5 separate regions of the Homo sapiens genome follow, and regions 1, 2, 4 and 5 are each linked to region 3. Evidence: promoter capture Hi-C in human tissues and cell types (Jung and others, 2019). All regions are on one chromosome and are shown on one strand. Each heading gives the region's core, a stretch centred on a gene start or on the middle of the fragment in contact. The rest is flanking DNA. Distances are from core to core; before and after follow the strand shown.

Evidence for each region. Contacts are between HindIII fragments. The study calls those that stand out against the background at their distance.
Region 1: a fragment that was not itself captured here is called in contact with the fragment with the promoter of RNF182 in region 3 in 1 of the 25 tissues and cell types used here (mesendoderm cells).
Region 2: a contact is called between a fragment that was not itself captured here and the fragment with the promoter of RNF182 in region 3, in 1 of the 25 tissues and cell types used here (hippocampus).
Region 4: a fragment that was not itself captured here is called in contact with the fragment with the promoter of RNF182 in region 3 in 1 of the 25 tissues and cell types used here (mesenchymal stem cells).
Region 5: a fragment that was not itself captured here is called in contact with the fragment with the promoter of RNF182 in region 3 in 1 of the 25 tissues and cell types used here (H1 embryonic stem cells).

Annotation. Positions count from the first base shown.
Region 1 is chr6:13,794,257-13,796,956 of GRCh38, reverse strand. The region is part of intron 6 of MCUR1 (mitochondrial calcium uniporter regulator 1); the gene reads left to right. Among named protein-coding and RNA genes, the nearest start is that of MCUR1, 19 kb to the left of the region's middle. The HindIII fragment of the contact is 3,316 bases long and covers 1-2,700 here.
Region 2 is chr6:14,107,957-14,110,656 of GRCh38, reverse strand. LOC124901265 (a long non-coding RNA gene) reads right to left here and starts at 1,894. Exons shown (of 2, transcript XR_007059464.1): 1 at 1,419-1,894; 2 at 1-511. RefSeq lists an enhancer at 1,466-1,605 and a cis regulatory region at 1,242-2,029. The HindIII fragment of the contact is 4,101 bases long and covers 1-2,700 here.
Region 3 is chr6:13,923,529-13,926,228 of GRCh38, reverse strand. RNF182 (ring finger protein 182) reads right to left here and starts at 1,277. Exons shown (of 3, transcript NM_152737.4): 1 at 1,206-1,277. RefSeq lists an enhancer at 1,882-2,382. The HindIII fragment of the contact is 4,770 bases long and covers 1-2,521 here.
Region 4 is chr6:14,087,830-14,090,529 of GRCh38, reverse strand. No RefSeq gene overlaps it. Among named protein-coding and RNA genes, the nearest start is that of CD83, 29 kb to the left of the region's middle. RefSeq lists enhancers at 1,301-1,802, 1,839-1,888. The HindIII fragment of the contact is 4,114 bases long and covers 1-2,700 here.
Region 5 is chr6:13,773,022-13,775,721 of GRCh38, reverse strand. No RefSeq gene overlaps it. Among named protein-coding and RNA genes, the nearest start is that of MCUR1, 40 kb to the left of the region's middle. The HindIII fragment of the contact is 9,980 bases long and covers 1-2,700 here.

The DNA of each region.
Region 1 (2,700 bases), core at 5-2,504, 130 kb after region 3:
TCACTGGTGTCTGGAAGAGGAGAAACTCTTTTGGTTACCTTTATCTTTATGGGTTGTATACTCAGGAAGAACTGAATTCACTTGATATAGGAAAATGACTGTGTGTAGCTAACCAACCTGGGAAAAACTACATCAAGGACATCAGGAAATACAGGGCATGAATGTAGATTAAAGCCAGTGAATTTTTTTAAAATTTTATATGGAGTCATTTTAATAACATAACTAGGCTGATATATATGTACATTTTTCAATCATGTAACATTTAGATTTTACTCATTTTAAGTCATTAACATCATCCAGCAAACAAAAATTTTCCAGAAATTTTTTTCACAATTACAGTTTTAGTCTTTAAACCAAAATGAAAAAATTTCTGCCGGGCATGGTGGCTCACACCTGTAATCCCAGCACTTTGGGAGGTCAAGGTGGGTGGATCACCTGAGGTCAGGAGTTCGAGGCCAGCCTGGCCAACGTGGTGAAACCCTGTCTCTACCAAAAATACAAAAATTAGCCCAGCGTGATGGCCCACCTGTAGTCTCAGCTACTCGGGAGACTGAGGCAGAAGAATCATTTGAACCCAGGAGGCAGAGATTGCAGTGAGCCGAGATCACGCCACTGCACTCCAGCCTGGGTGACAGAGTGAGACCCTGTCTCAAAAAAAAAAAAAAGAAAAGAAAAAAAATGATGAAATTTCATTCTTGCAAATACTCATATTTTTAAATTATTGGATATATAGAGTGGATTCATTCAGTGTTCTTATAAGAAAAGTAAAGCTTATAATATTTTGCAGACTTGATAATGCAGCACTCAAAATACTTACCCTGATTTTATTTTACTTGAATTTACTAGTTAAATATGCTGATAAATATGATTTACATGTAATTACTTTATCTGGAATGACTATATTGACCTTAATCTCCAGAAAGCAACCAATGCACAGAGTTTCAATTAAATCCTGTCCATCATGATAGTAACTTTTTCTACATGACACAAAAGTGTCTGTGGTATATTTGAACAGTAACTGTGACTATGAATTGTTCTTATAGTCTTTTTTTAGTGTTTCATTATTTTAATTTCAGTGGGTTTTGGGGGAACAGGTGGTGTTTGGTTACATGAAGACGTTATTTAGAGGTGATTTCTGAGATTTTTGGTGCCCCCATCACCCTAGCAGCGTACACTGTACCCAATGTGTAGTCTTGCCCCTCACCCACCTCCTACCCTTTCCCCCAAGTCCTCAAAGTCCACTGTATCATCCTTTTGCCTTTGCATCATAGCTTAGCTCCCATCAAGCCAGTGAATTTATGTCATTTAGTAACCTAGCGGGGAGGTTGTTCTTGGTAATCATAAACTTGGATTACTCTGAAGCACAAGGCAGTAGTAAATTATACAGCGAGTGTGTTTGTAACATGCATTGGTGAAGATGAGTTTTCTGGCTCTCGTTCTTTCGGTAAAGTTATAATGTTAAATATTAAATTGCAAATTAACTATGATATTTACAGCCAGTTCCAAAAGCAGTATGGCATATAAACTTCTGGGGCATGGGGATATAGAGCTACATAGATGTTATTTTTAAAACCATGACAGCGTCAATATTTAGGCTCTTCTTTTGTGGGTGAGTCAATGTTGAGTTAATGAAGACTGAGGTTTAGTGGTGCACAAAATCTTGTTCCACGCCGCCCTCTAGTGGTGATCTGATGCATCGGGCTCTCCTGGTCTGAAACCCTGAGGTTTAAAGAGCATTGTTCTTGGTTTTACAACCTACTCCTTGGCTTAGGGTTTTGGGGTTTTTTGTTTTTGTTTTTGTTTCTCTTTCTCTTTTTTTTCTTTTTTTTTTTTCTACTTCTAAGCTCCCAGTAGTCCCAGGAGAATATTTTATAGCTAGGAAGTTTCTATATACTTCAAAGGATTAACTTTTTCTTTCTATAACAAGGTTAATGTAGTTCTTAAAAGTCGTCATTCAAATTACTGATTGTCATATGCTCAATTAAATCTTGTTGCCCACTACTAAGGAGATAAGTCTGATTTCAATCTTACTGTCTACAAAACTGCACTAAATCTTTTCACTGACATTAATAGCCAAAAGGCGAGATACTTTAACTCTGGGTAGAATTAGTTCCTTTAGTAACGCTGGATTATGGCTACGCCCAAGTGGGTTTTTTTATTGTTATTAAAACCAACATGTGCAGGAGGCTAAGGCAGGAGAATTGCTTGAACCTGGGAGGCAGAGGTTGCAGGGACCCCAGATCAAGCCACTGCACTCCAGCCTGGGAATAGAGTGAGACTCCATCTCAAAACAAAAAACCAAGCCAAAAAAAAAAAAACCCAACATGTGATGAGTTAGTGTATTTATGTATTTACATTGTATTTTATAATCACAACACAATGTCTTTGTCATAGAATAATAATCCTTGGCAGCTATTTGTTCCCCAACTTCATACCTTTTCTGTCTTTTGTTGAGACTCAAGTAGTGACGTGTTTTGCTACTAGTTATGATGGGATAGCTCCTAAATTGAGTTGAGTCTCCATTTTCAACCCTCTCAAAACCAAAAACCATATGACTCAGCATCCTTCGAAATTGGTCCCCAGGGAGTGCTACTACAATAGTGGGAGGGACCTAAAGACATCACAGGAAATATGCAGGGAGAAGTGACAGATGACTAAGGAAATCCAGATATTAGAGGAATGAGTAAGTATAAATAAGAA
Region 2 (2,700 bases), core at 100-2,599, 180 kb before region 3:
GCATTTATTAGACTGGATTCAGCACTTCTAGAAATTTGCAACAGCTGTTTTTCATATTACATGGAAACCTATGTTGTTGAAAAACAGAAGTATCCAATCTGCTGCTCAATAACCTAAAAGCTTGCCATCACAGGAACCCCTTCTTAACCCACAGAGTTGAACGCCAAGGTGTATTTTCACACGTAGCATATTCTTCCTCATGTCCTCATACTGAGTATGAAGAGATCTCTGATGAAGGCCATTCCTGAGGAAGCATTTTCAGGCTAACTACAGCTACCTTATCATAAAAAACCAGACAGTATTTCGCAGCGTGTGTCTGGCGTGGGAGTGGGAGTGGAAATTCAGTAGCTCTGAGTCCTGACTTGTGTTCTTCCTCGAATGTACGAGAGGGGCTTACCCGTATGTTGATCTTCGCTTTCAGTGAAAAGGGAAAAGAAAGGTGAATGCAGAGGAAGAGCTTCTTGCCTTTCTGAAACCACTGGCTGTCACCTTCATGTTTTCTCTGCTGTGACTATAGAAAGAGAAAAACCGAAAATCATTAGAAAACATTGTGGTTACGCATTCTCACTGCCAAGGCAAGCATTTGGTAACCTTGGGCAAGGAACAAAGCTAGCCAGGTCCCTCTCCCTTTCTTCTGACCCTCAAACCTTCCTGTCTGATTGCAATTTGCATCACGGCCAGGGCTTCATCATTTAATTTATCTCAGAGAGCATCCTGACAGAGCATGGCAGAACATTGTGAACCTAGACATTTGAGAAGCTGGTCAGAGTTTGGGAGCCAGGGGAGAAAGCTCTAGAATGTTTTATTAGTTCTCTCACCTGCCCCTCCCAAGTCAGGGACTCATGGGGAACGGGTGTGGAGAGAGGGAAGTTTTAATTCACTATTAAACATTCACTAAGCAGCTGGTAAGTGGTGCATAAGAAAAGACCATTCTCAAGAAGTTTACACAGTAGAATACAGTTTCCTTTTTCTGGAGTTGCTGGGGGAGTGTCTCACTATGTTGCCCAGGCTGGTTTCGAACTCCTGAGCTCAAGTGATCCTCCCACCTCAGCCTCCCAAAGTGCTGGGATTACAGGCATGAGCCGCCGTGCCTGGCCATTGAATACCATTTCTCACAGTGGACCTTGCTTGCCTCTCTGGAGTTCTACACAGTTTCTCACTGAGGGTCTGGGGGGACTGGGATGCAGGGGCAGAAGGTGGTTCTACAAGGAGGGAGAGAACTAGTGATGGGAGAATTCAGGGGAGGAGAGAGGATTAGGAGAAAAAGGAAATGAGAGTAAGGCATGCCCTTTAAGAAAAAGTCCCGAGGGAGGGGGGCCAGTGAACACGTTTCTGCTGTCTGCCTTAGACACCTGTCAGATGCTGAATGGATCATAAATAGGCAGAAAGAAGTTTGTGATAGGCTGGAAATAGCTCACCTGATGACTGCTGCCAGCAATGGGGGCAAAACCCATGGTACTCCCAGGCACCCAGCTCTCTACCCAGCCTGACTTCCTGGCTGGACTGATCTGCAGGATGAGGAAGTTCTGTAAAAGGGGAAGGCGGGGGTTCCCCTCTGCCCCAAGTGTGCCTTCTGAGCCTCCTTTCCAGAGAAGGGCTTTTGAGTGAAAAGAACGCACTTAACCTAGGCCTGCCCACGGACTACCGCAGCAGCTGCCCCTTGTTGAGCTCTGGCTGAGAGTCAAGCCTTCTGTGCTCAGCCCCTTCTGACTCTGCTCCCCAGCGGAGAGCTCTTATCTGCTGGCCTCCAGGTCTCGGGTTCCCATTACCACAGCCCTTCCCTCAAGCCAGTAGAACCTTCGCGAACACCTCCACTGCTGGCGGCACTCCCCAGCGTTAAGGCCTGAACACCCATGGGCCATTGAGAACCACAGAAGGGCTGGAAGGAAAGCCCAAAGTGTGGCTATGTAAATTGTGTTTTTAAATAAAATTTCCCATCAGGTTTTTCCCTGAGGGCTACTTCTTAGTCACCCTGTACTTTCCAGTTATGGGCTTGTTTGTTCACCGAATGAACCAAATAAATAGAAATAACTCTTATTTCTCGTGCTTTGTCTTTGCTTTCTTTTTTTCTCTTAGAAACTAAAAGCCTGTAGAGAGAGTGTCCATCCTCTGCCAAGGAGGAAAGAGGGAGGTGAAACAATTCCTTTGTTGAACATGAGGAAGAAACCGCATAATCCAGCAAGTGACACAAAAACAAAACACAGAGATATTGGTCTCAGGCTTGATTTGAGGCACTTAGTGGAAAGTCTCTCCACAGGCACAACACAGTCCTTCAAGGACCATGTAAAGCAAGCCTCTTCTTTTCTCTTCTCTTCTCTTTTCTTTTCTTCTCTTTTCTTCTTTTCTTTTTTGAGATGAAGTCTTGCTCTGTTGCCCAGCCTGGAGTTTAATGGTGTGATCTCAGCTCACTGCAAACTCCACCTCCCAGGTTCAAGCAATTCTCCTGTCTCAGCCTCCCGAGTAGCTGGGATTACAGACACCTGCCATCATGCCCAGCTAATTTTTGTAGAGAAAGGGTTTCACTGTGTTGACCAGGCTGGTCTTGAACTCCTGACCTCAGGTGATCTACCCGCCTTGGCCTCCCAGAGTGCTGGGATTACAGGCGTGAGCCACCATGCCAGGCTGCCTTTTTTTTTTTTTTTTTTAAAGGCAGGAACTTCTATGCTGAAATCTCCTGCTTGTATGCTTCTTGCTGCACCT
Region 3 (2,700 bases), core at 28-2,527:
TTTCTTGCATTCCATATAGTTCTTTAAATGACCTATTCCAACTTATACATTATTTTACTAAGTTGGATATACAATTTTATATGTTAGATTATTTTCCAGTTATCAATATGACATCTCATATTGTTTAAATATGATTTAAAACAAATCTTATTAACATATATACAATTTCCTTCTGAATTGATCAACTGTATTTCTGAAAATGTATCTGTTTTCTTTCATATTACTACATGTAAGATGATGTCTAAGTACCAAAAAAAAAAGTCTTCACAGTCACAATTTAAATCTGTGCTTCGCGTCTGCAACAAACTATCACGAAATGATTGCAAGGGTTGGGGCCACTGAGAAAGGTACCTATAACCTATCCAGTGCCCCAGTGGCAACCGCATCGTGGTCCTCATCATCCCACTCATAAACACCGATGCAAACACCGCCCAGCTACCTGCCTCCAGAGGTGCTTTGGATTGCCTCCCTACACATAAAAACAAAAGGCACTTTCCAGTTCCTTACAGCATGAACACAATACCTTCTAGAAACAAAAGCAATGACCTCGGTGCCAAGTATCTCCTTGACAAAGTATCGGTACTGCTCTACATTCTGGTCTTGCTAGTCGGGGAAAGCCGGGCTACCCTTACCATCCAGTTATAGGTGCAACTGCACCTTCCAAAGAAAAAAAGGTCTTTCGATTCAATATCCAAACGAACTTCAGAAGCCTCCTCAAAATGCTTCAGCCACAGGCATAAAAATGGGCTCACTTTTCAGAGATTCGTAAAAATCTTTCGCTTGTCCCTCTTACTACCCTCCCAACCCCTCCTCAAAGAGAATGCCATGAAACATGAAAGTCCAAAGGTAAATACTTTCATACCTTTTTTTCCCCCAAAAGCCTCGATGGCACGCCAAGAAGGAAAATAACAACAACAACAGAGGGGCAGCTCCCTGAGCAGGTGCAGCCCGCGCGGGCGCTCCGCAGCCGCCCTCCGCCGCACAGCCCCTCAAGTTGGTGCCAGGACGGCGGCCCCCGTGGTGCCCGGAGGGAGACTCCGCGCGCGGGCCCCGGCGCCGCTCGGCCCGAAGTTTGCCGCCCCCTCTCCTCGGCGCGCTTGGGCGGCCCGGCGCCGTCCAGGACTGCGGGGCTGGCTGCTGCCCCAGCGTTGGGGAGGCCCGGCGTCCCGCCGACCCCTCCCCGGCCGCGGGCGCGATCGCCTTACCTGGCCGGCGGCGGCCCAGGGCCCGGGAGCCGCTCCGGCTGCGGCGGCGCCTGGGAGGGGAGGGAGGTTCCCGTGGAGGAGGAGCTCGCGCGAGGAGCTAGCGGGCTGGCGGGCGGGCGGCTTTGTCTCTACGGCGCTGAGCCGCCGACCCTGCGTCACCATGGCAACCGCCGGGGCCCCCCCGGCCCTTCCCCTCAGCAGTCCGGGTATTCGGAGAGGACAAGGACCCCCGATGGGCCGCCACCACCACAAACACGCCCCTCTCTCAGTCTCCCTCACAAACCGCCTGTTTCTCCCCAGCGAGAGGGGAAGGCTAAAGCGGAGCGAGCCCAGGGCCAAGTGGTATTCGCATCCTAGTAGGCACTCCTTTGCTTCCCCACACTGGACATTCCAACTCCCGTCGCACCACCATCCCCCCCACAGACACCCTCCACCACTACCACCACCACACCTTTCTCCTGTGGAGCTGTACCCTCAAAATGGAAATTCACTTAAGGGAGGAGAAAGAGCAATGCAAAGTGATAAAGTGTTGAGCAACTGGTACTCGGTTCTCCTGTTGCAACTGCCGCAGCATGCACGGAGCTGCCAAGGGACGCCGTGCCGCCTCCTCCCTCTCCCCCTCCTCCTCCTCTCTCTTTTAGCAAGCTTTGCCTCTGCTGGATGTGGTCTCACTCCACCCAACCCGTGTATCTGTCTTGTTGAGGGCTCCCGTAGGAGAGAGGGGAAAGGGGGCTTTATCTCTGATGTAAACACTGGATACACTTGTAACCTCAGAAGCTGAAACACAACTTTCAGGCTGCAGTATGGATCTCAGCTGCTGCCACACTGCGCAGCTACTGGCTGTGACCGCTAAGCATCTACCATGAGCCCTGAGTGACTCTGTGCCAAGGACTGGTCACGTACTGCAGGCCATGGCACTCAGGAGCAGAGAAAAGAAAGCTAACTTTTTCCTCTCCTGAGGAAATTCTTAGAGAGGGAGAGAAAAGTACCAGCAGACCCTTGGTCATGCTTCCTCTAAAGGACGAACTAGAGGGCAGCCTCCATGGGGGGAGTGAGTCATCCCTCCATACTGTTTTCTTGAAAGATCCGTTGCTGAATCCAAAAGCTACAGTGTCTTTCTTCAAACCCTGGGGAACATGACATTTATTTTTTGGCATTTGTGAATCACCAAAGGAATGTCAATGATTTATAATAAAATCCACGGTAGCTGATGTTTTCTGGGTTTACTACTTGAGAAGCCACAAAGCAGAACAATGTTATTGCCATTTGAAGGTACACCTATATTAACTAATGAAAAGATAAGATCTATTTCATGGTGGAAAAGGAAAACAGTTTGTTCCTCGGAGAGACTGGCCACTTTCTTGTAATGGGAATATTCTGAATGAAGTCAATAATATTCCAGATGAAGTCAAAAGACAAGGTCTTTTTGGCAGGCCATTAAGCATTTGGCAATACCTGCCAGAATTCAAAATGCACATACATTTCTCCCAGCTAT
Region 4 (2,700 bases), core at 59-2,558, 160 kb before region 3:
TAGCCTAGAGGAGAAAGTTTCAGCTTTTGAATCCTACAAATTCTCCTTTTTCCACTTCTTCACTAAGTCAAGGTTGGAGAGTGACTTCATCTGCCTCAAAATGAACTTTCTCACCTGCGATAAATATGAAGGTATCAGGACATAAAATTATCTCATAAACCACACATTTGGGAACACTCCATAAAGCCAAATCACCCCAGTTGAACCCAGAAACAGTTCCACGGATTGAGAGAAGAGACTGATAAGAATCAAGAGAGTTAATCATTGCAATATGGTTCCAGAAAAAGCGCTGCCTCCTGCTCCTCTCCACCCCATCTTGGGCCAAGCCAACTGAGAAAAGGATGACTGATAGGAACCCCAATAGCTTTAAAGACCCAAGAACATGTGTGAAACCTTCGAAGACCATAAGACCTCAAAGTCCCTTGAGCCCAGCATGGTGGGAAGCAATAGAGCAGAAATTGCTAGGTGGCATAGCAAGGCAGAAAGGGACTGGGCCAACACAGCCAGATATTGTCCCTGCTCCCCAGAAGGGCAAAGGAGTGACGAAGAGAGCCAGATCCACAGGGCCTCATCAGGATGAGGTGGGGGCAGCGGTAGTACTACACACATGGATGACTGGAGGCCAGGCAGGAGAGAGGACGCACAGGACCACGCCGGCACCGACAGGTGATAACCACGCCACGCCCCGCCCCACCACCTCCACCCTTGCGGGGAAAAAGATTAGATTTCTGGGCTGGGCGCGGTGGCTCACGCCTGTAATCCCAGCACTTTGGGAGGCCGAGGCGGGCGGATCACGAGGTCAAGAGACTGAGACCATCCTGGCTAACACGGTGAAACCCCGTCCCTACTAAAAATACAAAAAATTAGCCGGGCGTGGTGGCGGGCGCCTGTAGTTCCAGCTACTCGGAAGGCTGAGGCAGGAGAATGGTGTGATCCCAGGAGGCGGAGCTTGCAGTGAGCCGAGACCGAGCCACTGCACTCTAGCCTGGGTGACAGAGCGGGACTCCGTCTCAAAAAAAAAAAAAAAAAATTAGATTTCTGAAACGCTTTGGAATGAGAGCACTAAACAGAAACTGAAATAGAAATTAAGTTTAGTCATAGAAAGTTACATTTGTTGCAGTCCAATATGGGTACTCATTACATGAATATATGTAAAGTAACTGTGCACGTGGCAGTTGCACAATAAATTCCAAGCATTATTATGATGACTATTGACCAGTTATATTTCTGTCCACCTTCTCTTTCCAGAGAAGTTGAGGCAACCTTGAGTGCTGAAATAAGGGCAGAGCATCCCTAGCATAATAAATGTTGGAGAACTATTTTATGTTTCTTTATATGAGTGATTGAGGGATCACTGTACTCCACCTTCTCCCATCTATTGTAGATTATATTATTCTTCAGTCAGTCTTCATGTTCCTGGTCCACCCTCCTGAATGGAGTACATCTCCCCATCCCTTGACCTTGGGCTGGGCCATAGGATGTGCGTTGACTGAAGAATGGGGTGTGGCACAATGGTGGCATGCCAGCACAAAGAGAGACTCAGAGGCATTATGTCTTTTCGCTTCCTGTCTGGCACTCCTGCTACTCTCCATAAGAAAAGGATGCCCCAGGCGGCCACTGCTTCTTCAGCCTGGGTCTCAGAATGAAAAACACACAAAGCAGACTTGAATCTGACCTGAAGCTTACAACCAAACCCCATCAAGTCTAGAGGAAGCCAAAAAGTTTAGGTGAGACACAGCTGAGGCGCAGCTGACCTACAGTCCCAGGACTGAGAAATGATTCATTTTCATAAATCATTAAAATTTGGGGTTGTTACTGCAACAAAATTTGCCTAATATACCACCAGCTAAAAGTGCCTTCAGCACATTGAAGTAAAGAAAGAGAAGAAAAGGAAGATGGATTGGGAAAACAAGGACAAGAAAGCTTTAAGAGATGAAGGGAAATTACCTTTTCAGGAAGTTTTGGTCTGGCAGTGGTCCTAAAGATGGAATAGCAGCATTGCTAATAAAGAAGAAAGTGGGAGAGTAAACAGAGAGTTCTAGAGATGCTTGTGAACCTTGGAGACCCTGAAGGTTAAGATGGGTTCAGGAAAACATGGTTTCTTAACTCAGACTTGCTACTTCTCCCTTAATTCTCAGCATTATATAACACTCTCTCAGTTTTAAGGAGTTTAATTCCCTTCTGAGCATTAAGCTTGGTAAATAAACTTTTATGATTTGCAATGAATTCTACATTGCTATCTCCCCTATTTCTACTTAAAATGCAGCAGGATGTGTGTTTGATATTGATTTGGGTTTGCAATTTAAATTGTTCTTGTGTAGGTATTTGTCAAAGAACTGATGTTTTCTCCATGTGTCATTTGAGATGGGTTAAGTATGCTCAGGAGGGGACAGCTGATATAGAGGTCTCTCCCTGAGCAGTCGGGTTAGTTATAAATTGCTCCGTGGTTTTTCCTAACCTTGTAATGGCTGAAGTAAAACTTAGCAGCTGAATAGTTAGCCCATTTATTTAATTTGATTTTGATTTTCCATTAAGCTCTAGTGATTTATTTAAATAGATTCTGAAATACCAAATTGAAATGTGAAGTATTTGGCATAAAGGAGGATTAAGAACCAAAATATAAATGGAATAAAATCCATTTTGCAAACCTCTAGACCTGTCCAATAAATTGCTTGGGAGACCTGCGTGGAATTACTTCTT
Region 5 (2,700 bases), core at 201-2,700, 150 kb after region 3:
ACCTGGCCTCCAGACATAGTTTTTTTGTTTGTTTGTTTGTTTTTCCGAGACAGAGTCTTGCTCTGTCACCCAGACTGGAATGCAGTGGCTGATCTCAGCTCACTGCAATGTCCGCCTCCCGGGTTCGAGCAATTCTCCTACCCCAGCCTCCCAAGAGCTGGAATTACAAGTGCCTCCCACGATGCCTGGCTAATTTTTTTTTTTTTTTTTTTTTTGTATTTTTAGTACAGACACGGTTTCACCATGTTGGCCAGCCTAGTCTCGAACTCCTGACCTTGTGATCCACCCGCCTCAGCCTCCCAAAGTGCTGGAATTACAGGCGTGAGCCACCGCGCCCGGCCCAGGCATAGTTTTAAAGTAATCACAATCTCATTTAATCTTCATCACATCCCTATGAAGTAAGTACTACAGTGATCTCTATTTTGCAGATGAAGATACTGAGGTATAGAAAGTTTCAGTAGACTGGATGAGGTGGCTCACACCTATAATCCCAACATCTTGGGAGGTGAAGTTGGGAGGATCCCTTGAGCCCAGAAGTTTGAGACCAGCCTGGGCAACATAGGGAAACTCCATCTCTATTTATTTAAAAAAAAAAAAGAAAGAAAGAAAGAAAGAAAAAAGTGGGCCTGGCGTGGTAGCTCATGCCTGTAATCCCAGCACTTTGGGAGGCCGAGGCAGGTGGATCATCTGAAGTCAGGAATTCAAGACCAGTCTGGCTAACATGGCAAAATCCTGTCTCTACTAAAAATATTAAAATTAGCCAGGCACAGTGGCGTGCACTTATAATCCCAGTTACTCAGGAGGCTGAGGCAGGAGAATCACCTGAATCCAGGAGGTGGAGGTTGCAGTGAGCCGAAATTGTGCCACTGCACTCCAGCCTGGGTGACAGAGTGAGACTCTGACTCAAAAAAAAAAAAAAAAAAAAAAAAAAAATAGTAATAAAAAAGTTGAAGTAACTTGCCCAAGAACACATAGCTAATAAATGGTGACGTCAGAGTCAAACCGAAGCATTCTGATTCCAGGGAATAGATACCCTACCTGGCTGACCACATGTGGTAAGGATCAAATGAGGTCAAATACATGAAAATATTTTCTAAACAATAAAACCCTGGCCAGGTGCAGTGGCTCACGCCTGTAATTCCAGCACTTTGAGAGGCCGAGGCAGGTGGATCACAGGTCAAGAGTTCAAGACCAACCTGGCCAAGATGGTTAAACCCCGTCTCTACTAAAAATACAAAAAAATTAGTCGGGCATGGTGGCAGGTGCCTGTAATCTCAGCTACTCGGGAGACTGAGGCAGGAGAACAACCTGAACCTGGGAGGCGGAGGTTGCCCTGAGACGAGATCATTCCGCTGCACTCCAGCCTGGGCAACAGAGTGAGACTCCATCTCTAAATAAATAAATAAATAGTAAAACCCCATACCTACATATAAAATGTGTAGTCTGCATGCAATAACTGGAATCCTTTGCTAGTAATTACTAGTAATATTACTTGCCCAACCACCAAACAAGCAAACTTCTGTTAGTACCCTCCCTGGCAACCACCCCAGGGTACTAAGGTGAATTTACTAAGATGCAGTATCCTAGTAAAAGAACATTCTTCTTCGAGTATCTAGGGTACAGACTGTAGTAGGTATTAAAACAACGTAGGTAACCCATGGACATATCCGTAAGCTCTCAAGTGTTATACATCAATCTTCCATGCAGACCCCAGGGTGATTGTGAATATTTATATTTTTATTGGGGAATCTTCGTATAAAGGGGTTGATGTTGACATGGAGCCCACTGTTTGGGTCTCAGAGTCACCCTGAGTTTAGGCCTTAAATACTTGTTTGATTCAGTACCCTTGTTTTTGAGACAGGGTCTCACTTGTCACCCAGAGTGCAGTGGTGCAATCTCAGTTCACTGCAACCTCTGCCTCCTCATGCTCAAGCCATTCTCCTACCTCAGCCCTTCATATAGCTGAGACTACAAGCACGCACTACCATGTCTAGCTAGTTTTCGTATTTTTTTGTAGATAGTGTTGCCATGTTCCCCAGGCTGGTCTATGAACTCCTGGACTCAAGAAATCCGCCTGCCTTGGTCTCCCAAAGCGCTAGTATGTCTGGAACTGGTAGGTTCTTGATCTCATTGAAATTATGAATGAAGCCACGTACCCTCGCGGTGTGTTACAGCTCTGAAGGTGGCGCGTCAGGAGCTTATTCCTTCTGATGTTTACATGTGTTTGGAGTTTTTTCTTTCTGGTGCGTTCGTGGTCTCGCTGCCTTATGAGTGAAGATGCAGATTTTTGTAGTGACTATTAAAGCTCAAAAAAGCAATGTAGACCCACAGAGTAAGCACTAGCAAGGTTTATTGCAAAACACATTCCAAAAACGTGAAAGGAGACCCGAGCGGTTTGCCACTGCTGGTTCCGGCAGCCTGCTTTTATTCTCTTATCTGGCCCCACCCACATCCTGCTGATTGGTAGAGCCGAGCAGTCTGTTTTGATAGGGCGCTGATTGGTGCGTTTACAATCCCTGAGCTAGACACAAAGGTTCTCCACGTCCCCACCAGATTAGCTAGATACAGAGTGTCGACACAAAGGTTCTCCAAGGCCCCACCAGAGTAGCTAGATACAGAGTGTCGATTGGTGCATTCACAAACCCTGAGCTAGACACAGGGTGCTGATTGCTGTGTTTACAAACCTTGAGCTAGATACAG